Regions from separate parts of the Homo sapiens genome. Here region 1 is linked to region 2. Evidence: promoter capture Hi-C in 16 types of primary human blood cells and fetal thymus (Javierre and others, 2016). All regions are on one chromosome and are shown on one strand. Each heading gives the region's core, a stretch centred on a gene start or on the middle of the fragment in contact. The rest is flanking DNA. Distances are from core to core; before and after follow the strand shown.

Region 1 (3,356 bases), core at 165-2,664, 54 kb before region 2:
AATCTGACACACCGGAACTGTCACCTCAACACCCTTGTATTTGCCTTCTCCCCACCCCACCACAGCACAGCACTACTGTACAGATTCCAGAAACGCTATGCAAGCTCCTACAGCTTGTATGCAGGCCAGAGGCCTTGACTCAGATAGCAGAGAGAGGGTTGAAGCGAGGAGGAAGTCTGTGAGAATGGAAAGAAAAAAAAAAAAAACTGGGGTAAGTGGCACCAACATCCCATGGAGATTTTGCTTAATTTGGCCAAATTATTTTTCCAGTTCTGGAATACATCCCTTTCCAAATCTCTGCCAACCCCAAGGAAATCACAATACGGTAAAGCAGAGGAAAAAGTCAAGCTTTTCATTTGCTCAAGGTCACCCAAAAAGCTTAATTAGAAAAAAAAATTAATTCACAGTAAGATAAGAATATCTAAAGTGTATCATTGTTTCTTTAAAAGAAGAGAAAGGCTCTGTGACCTCGGCCATATCCTTGAACCTTCCTGGGCCCAGTTTCTCTTCTATTAATAATGAAAAGAATGGCTGGAGAACATGAATTTAAGAGTTGTCAAGTGATGGGAACAAAGGAAACCCAAGAAAGTGCAGGTATAACATGATTTTACAGCACCTATAAAAGATGTACTGGTTGGCAATCTCTCCTCTTAACCAAGAAAGAGTGCATACCAACTGCATCTTTCTTTGTTAGAAACCTCCTGAGCTCCCTGTAGCCTCAACCTCCTGAGCTCAAGTGATACTCCTGCCTCAGCCTCCCAAGTAGCTGGCACGCACCACCACACCCAGCTCATTTTTTTTTTTTTTTTTTTTGTAGAGACAAGGTCTCACTATGTTGCCCAGGCTGGTCTCAAACTCCTGGACTCAAGTGATCCTTCTGCCTTGGCCTCCCAAAGTGCTGGGATTATAGGTGTGGGCCACAATGTTTTGGCCTTCCAGTATTCTTTGAATAAAGAAAATAATTAACTAAATGGGACATAAGAAGGAGTAGAAATCAGAATGATCAAACCAACAATTTAGATTTTTTTTTAAGTTTATTGATTTCCTGACACGGGAAAAATATTATGTACAGTTCCAAAAGCAACTACTTTAACAAGTTCTGATTCTAAGTATGAGTGAAATATAAACTTCCAATGCAGAAGCAATAGTGTGTTTCTGTGGTTCACTTTTACCTTCAACACAAAGCATTAGAAATGCCTTTCTTCTAATGGGAAATTTCAACTAGTTCGACCTGCCTGCCTAGCTCCCCACCAAAGCCTGGCACAGTGGCTTAATAATCACATTTATCTCAGCCAGCTCCTGGAGCGCCTTTCAAACATATCCCTTAGTCCTGCTTTTATCTTATTACAATGCAATGTAACTATGGAAACATAGGATTTCAAGTTATATTTTCTCTCACAGATAAAGAAAGCTGCCTTTTATAACTCAATTCAATCTAAATTGTGTCGTTAGGGTCAACTTTTATTTTTTTTTGAAGAATGCGAAAAAGTAAACATTTAAGTTGAAAAGAATAAAAAGACAAGCATTTTCATAAAAACCAGGACACAGTTTCTTCGTAATTACAAAAGGCACCTCTTTCCATCTCTCACACTACTGTCTAATGGCCACAGGACATTGGCCTTCTTCAAATTCTTAAGTGACCTGTGTGAGGTCAGAGCAGAGGGCCCGGCTTGTAGCGTGCACTTGCAGGTAGGCAAGAAAAGAAACCTACACCAGTTGCTTAAGTGCAGACGAGAGCGGCTGAACACCATCCCATTCCTAATTAGGAACTTTCAACTCTCCCTATGCTACATGCTCCCAAAGCTAAAAAGCCAAATGAAATATTCCAGCAGGTAGTATTCTAAAATCATAAATACAGAATCCCCAATAATATCATAATAAAAAGACGCCGAAGGCCAGGCACCGTGGGTCATGCCTGTAATCCCAAAACTCTGGGAGACAGAGGCAGAGAGGATCACTTGAGCCCAGAAATTCGAGACCAGCCTGGGCAACATAGGGAAACCCTGTCTCTACAAAAATATTAAAAATTAGCAGGGCATGGTGGCACATCCCTGTGGTCTCACCTACTTGGGAGGCCGAGGTGGGAGGATCGCTTGAGCCCAGGAGGTAGAGGCTGTGGTGAGCCATGACTGCACCACTGACTCCAGCCTGGGCAACCAAGCAATACCCTGTCTCCAAAAAAAAAAAAAAGACACTTAAAAATAATACTCTTGTGCTGTTTGTCATAAATATGGCCACCATCTAATGTAAAATGTGACTCAATTTTCACTAGTAATAACCAAACATATCAGTTTCACAAGGGTCCCTTTACCTTGCAGTGAGGCAGATCCTGTATTGATTTATTACTGCAATACCTGAAGCAAGTTCCTTTACACCTGTGCTCCAGGCTTCCCACCACGCTAAGGGCAACAGCAACTTCACTTGTTGGCCCAAAATAAATATTTAATAACAAAAGCTTATTTTTGGCTAGTTGTGTTATTTTCACCATTTACCTGGGGAGGGGGAGGAATACTAAAAGGCCAAAATGGTTCTCTCTCTCATGAGTGGGATTGGAAATATTTTTTTCTTATCTGTGCTTTCTATAGCTGTCCTGAATAAATGTCACAATCAGACTTGGAAGAAACACTGTCCTTGGCAAAGAATAATTCCTACTAAGGATAGGCAGTTTAAGGCTCAAGCCCTGAGCTATTTCTGCTGAGCCCCCATGGGATCAGAGAGGAAAATTCAGCACCACAGAGACCTGGCTCAGCTCAGCAGGCAGCTGGGTCCTCACTATGGTCCCTACCTGGCCCCCACCTGTTGGAGTGGCTCAGTTCAGAGAAAAACGACACATCCTGCGCTCTCTTGTCTGTGCCAAGTGATCAGAAGCTCAGTTCTGGGGCTGGGGCTGTGCAAACTATTTTTCTACAAGCAACCAAGTGACTCTAACATGTAGCCAGTGTTGAAAACCACTGCCCCAACAGATCCACGAACCTCTAAGCACCAATTTCCCATAAAAAGGAGGGGGAATTTAAATTCTCTCATAAAATGTAGCTCTCTCTCCGTAACTGAAAAGGAGGAACTACCCTTGACAGTCTCATAAAACTGTACCCTTGTGAACAAAAATGTTTATCCACTTCAATTTTTACAAGTATATAACAAAAAGCTAGTTACTTTCAAAACTCAAAAGTTGATGTACACTACATTGATTAGTACAAATGAAGCTCTTAAAAAGATAAAATTATTCATTTCCAACCAGATTCTTGAGTTAAGATAAAATCTGATGGTTTGATTGGCTTTGAAGAGATCTTAAAGCCATATTTCCTCTCTTTAAACTATAGCTCCTTTCATCTTATGCTGACTGTGCACAGAGGTTT
Region 2 (3,057 bases), core at 139-2,638:
ATGAATTCCAACCGATTTCTTCTCAGAGGCTTACTAGAAAAATGCCAAATATTCAAATTATTTTGGGGCGTTAACCCATACTGTTGCATGGAACAGAACGGAATTAATAAGGATCCAACAGTTACCACTTTTCAAATGCAAATATGTTGCCATCTAGTAAATACAGCCCCTTTTTAAACATCCCTCAGTGTCTATACAGTTCAGGGCCCTACTTTTGTTTCTTTGAAAATCAAAATTCGCGCATTACATTGAGGCATTATCTCAACTCAGCAACAACAACTAAAATAGATACTAACTAGTCCAGCCTGAGTCTACATCGTACAAGACTTTTGCTTTATTTTTTCCTCCCATTTTAGACACACTGTCCCTAAACAATTCTGCCAAAGGAAACAAACCCTGCAGTGATGAAAAGAATCACGGACACTGGGTTCCACGAACAATAAGGTCGTGGGCTGGTCACCTGCCCGCCTCGGGCCTCAGTTTTCCTGTCTGTAAAATGTGGCCGCTGGACGAATCACCTATGGGGTCCCATCCGGCCCTCTCCCTCCCGGGTGCCTCGCAGCCCGCCCGGGCTCAGCTGACTGGTGCTGTGGCCAGGGTGCCCTGCCTGCCGCCGCTCTAGATGGAGGAGAAGGGGGGCGAGGGAGGAGAGGAACTTGGACTTGCAACAGCTTCAAACAGGAGCCGGCGACAAACTTGAAGCCGTCCTCCTAACAATAGGAAAGAGCACTCCCATTTTCCTGGCTCAAACTTGCGGGACCCCGCGAGGCTGGATCCTCCCAGCCGCCCTCTCGGAACCCGCTTTACCTTTCTCCCTGTTTGGTGTTAGAAGGAGGAGGGTGCAGGACCGTTTGATTCCCTTCCATCTCCACCACGCACTTGGTGTTCAGTTCCAGTTCTGAAAGCAGAGAGAAAGGGACGTTGCAAAGTCCAGCATCCGCGCCTCCAGCCCGCCCGCCCGCCAGCCGCGCCGAGCGGGGCTCCGTCCCTGGAGGCGGCCGAGCCTGGAGACGGCGCCCCGGGCACCACGGCCAGCGCGGACGCCGCCTCCGCCCCGGCCCCCCGGCCCCGGCCGCGCTCTCGCCGTCCCGGCCCCGCAGTTTCTAAAGTTGCCCCCGCCCTCAGCCCGAGCAGAAATAAAAAAGAGCGGAAAGCTCCTCACCTCGTCGGTTCATGGGCCGGACCCGGACGGCAACTTTTACCTTGGTATCCGACATGTTGGCTGCGCTCGCCCGGCCGCTCGCCGCGCCCGCTCGGCCTTAGGCGGCCCCTCACGCGCGGCGCCGCCGCCGCTGCAGCCGCGCGCCCCTCGAGCGCGGCCGCCGCCGCTCCGCCGTGAGCTCCGAGAGGCAGCGCCGAGGCGCGCGGGCCATCCCGGGGGAGCGCGACGCGGGGCACGGCCGCGGCCCGGGGAGGGGCGGGCGCGCGGGGCGGGGCGCGGCGGCGGCGGCGGCGGCGGCGGGCGGGGAGGAGGCCTCGCCGGCGGGCCCAGGCGCAGCTCTAGCCGCGCCGCCCCAGCCGAGACCGCAGCGCCGCGGCCCCTCGCGGCTGCCCGGGGCCCCGCGCCGCCATGTTCCGCGCCCGTCACCCGCCGGGGCTCGGGAGAGGCCGGACACGGCCACGCGCGGCGCCCCCTGGAGCGGCGGGACGGCAGTGAGAGGAGCGGCGAGCAGCGCGGCGCTTAGGGGAGGCTGGAGTCCGGGGCGGGACGCATTGTTTCCCCAGGGGACCTCCCAGGCCAAGCCTGCACCGGCGCCCGCGGGGCCCCCCCCCGGACACCGCCGTGAGCTCGAGCCGCCTTCTGGGGCCGCTGCCACCCGGAGCCCCGGGACGGCAGCAAGGACCACGGCTCGCCGCGCTGGGTGCGCAGGCCTTCCCCTCCGAGTCCCGGCACGCCGCCCCCTCTGTCCCACACGGAGCCTGCAGCGGTATTTTAAGATCTCTGTGGTGAACCGAGACTAGAAATGAATCTGTGAATCCACCACCGAAACAGTGTATGTTTGTAAATAGTGCTCTCCCTTCCTTTCCCGGCCTCTCTTGTCTCGGGAGGGATGTCAAGTGGGCTGGGAGGGCCATTAACTCTTACATAAGAATTTAATAGCAATGGATTCTGTCATCCTGCCAAATGCAGACCTCGCTGCCAGGGCGGAACTGGGCGAATCCGATTTATTCTGTTTGGTTCAACAAGTGCTTAAGGGGCGCTCACCGAGTGCCAGGCATTTTGAAGCGTACAGAAGTCAAAAATCCAGAGTTTAGATCCAGGAATCTTTCGATTTTGCTTAAATCTAGAAATCCACTTATTGGAAGATGCATTGAGGTTTTACTGTGTGCAGGGTGCTGTTGAGGACACACAGAAACATGAATAGCATGATGCAGAGGCACACGCTAAGGTGGAAGAGAGGGCGTGGAGACTTATTATGCTAGACAGTGTACGGCAGGTGCTAGGAGAGGGGTCCGTCCGCCTCCAACCGAGGTGATGCTACGCTTGACCCTCGAACAACACGGGTTTGAACTGCACGAGTCCACTTACACGTGGCTTTTTTTCAACCAAAATCTGATTGAAAATACAGTATTCGTGCTCTGGCACAGTGCCTTACGCCTGTAATCCCAACACTTTGGGAGGCCGAGGCGGGAGGATCACTTGAGGCCAGGAGTTCGAGACCAGCCTGGGCAATGTAAAGAAACCCCATCTTGCCAAACATAAAAATTTAAAAAATAGCCGGGCATGGTGGCAGGTGCCTGTAGTCTTAGTTACTGGAGAGGCTGAGGTGGGAGGATCACTTGAGCCTGGAAGGTTGAGGCTGCAGTGAGCCATGTTCGCACCACTGCACTCCAGCCTAGGCAACAAAGCAAGACCCTGTCTCAAAAAAAAAAAGGGAGAAAAAAGAAAAGACAGTATTTGGCAGGTTCAAAACTGAGAGATCCAACTTTTCCTATTTGTGGGTTCTGCAGAGCTGACTGTGGGACTTGAGTATGCATGGTTTTGGATGTTCCTGGAACCAGTCCCCTGTGTACACTGAAGGACAAATACTTCAGCCCCACCTTATTGTAGAGCCA

Evidence for each region. Contacts are between HindIII fragments. The CHiCAGO score rates a contact against its expected background, and 5 or more counts as called.
Region 1: a contact is called between a fragment that was not itself captured here and the fragment with the promoter of KIF13A in region 2, in 2 of 17 cell types (monocytes and neutrophils). The highest score is 7.7, in monocytes.

What each region holds. Positions count from the first base shown.
Region 1 is chr6:17,932,612-17,935,967 of GRCh38, forward strand. All of the region lies in intron 2 of KIF13A (kinesin family member 13A), which reads right to left. Among named protein-coding and RNA genes, the nearest start is that of KIF13A, 53 kb to the right of the region's middle. RefSeq lists a silencer at 1,560-1,744. The HindIII fragment of the contact is 2,077 bases long and covers 377-2,453 here.
Region 2 is chr6:17,986,247-17,989,303 of GRCh38, forward strand. KIF13A (kinesin family member 13A) reads right to left here and starts at 1,389. Exons shown (of 39, transcript NM_022113.6): 1 at 1,163-1,389; 2 at 808-898. The coding sequence starts at 1,217. RefSeq lists silencers at 975-1,094, 1,465-1,964. The HindIII fragment of the contact is 11,131 bases long and covers 1-3,057 here.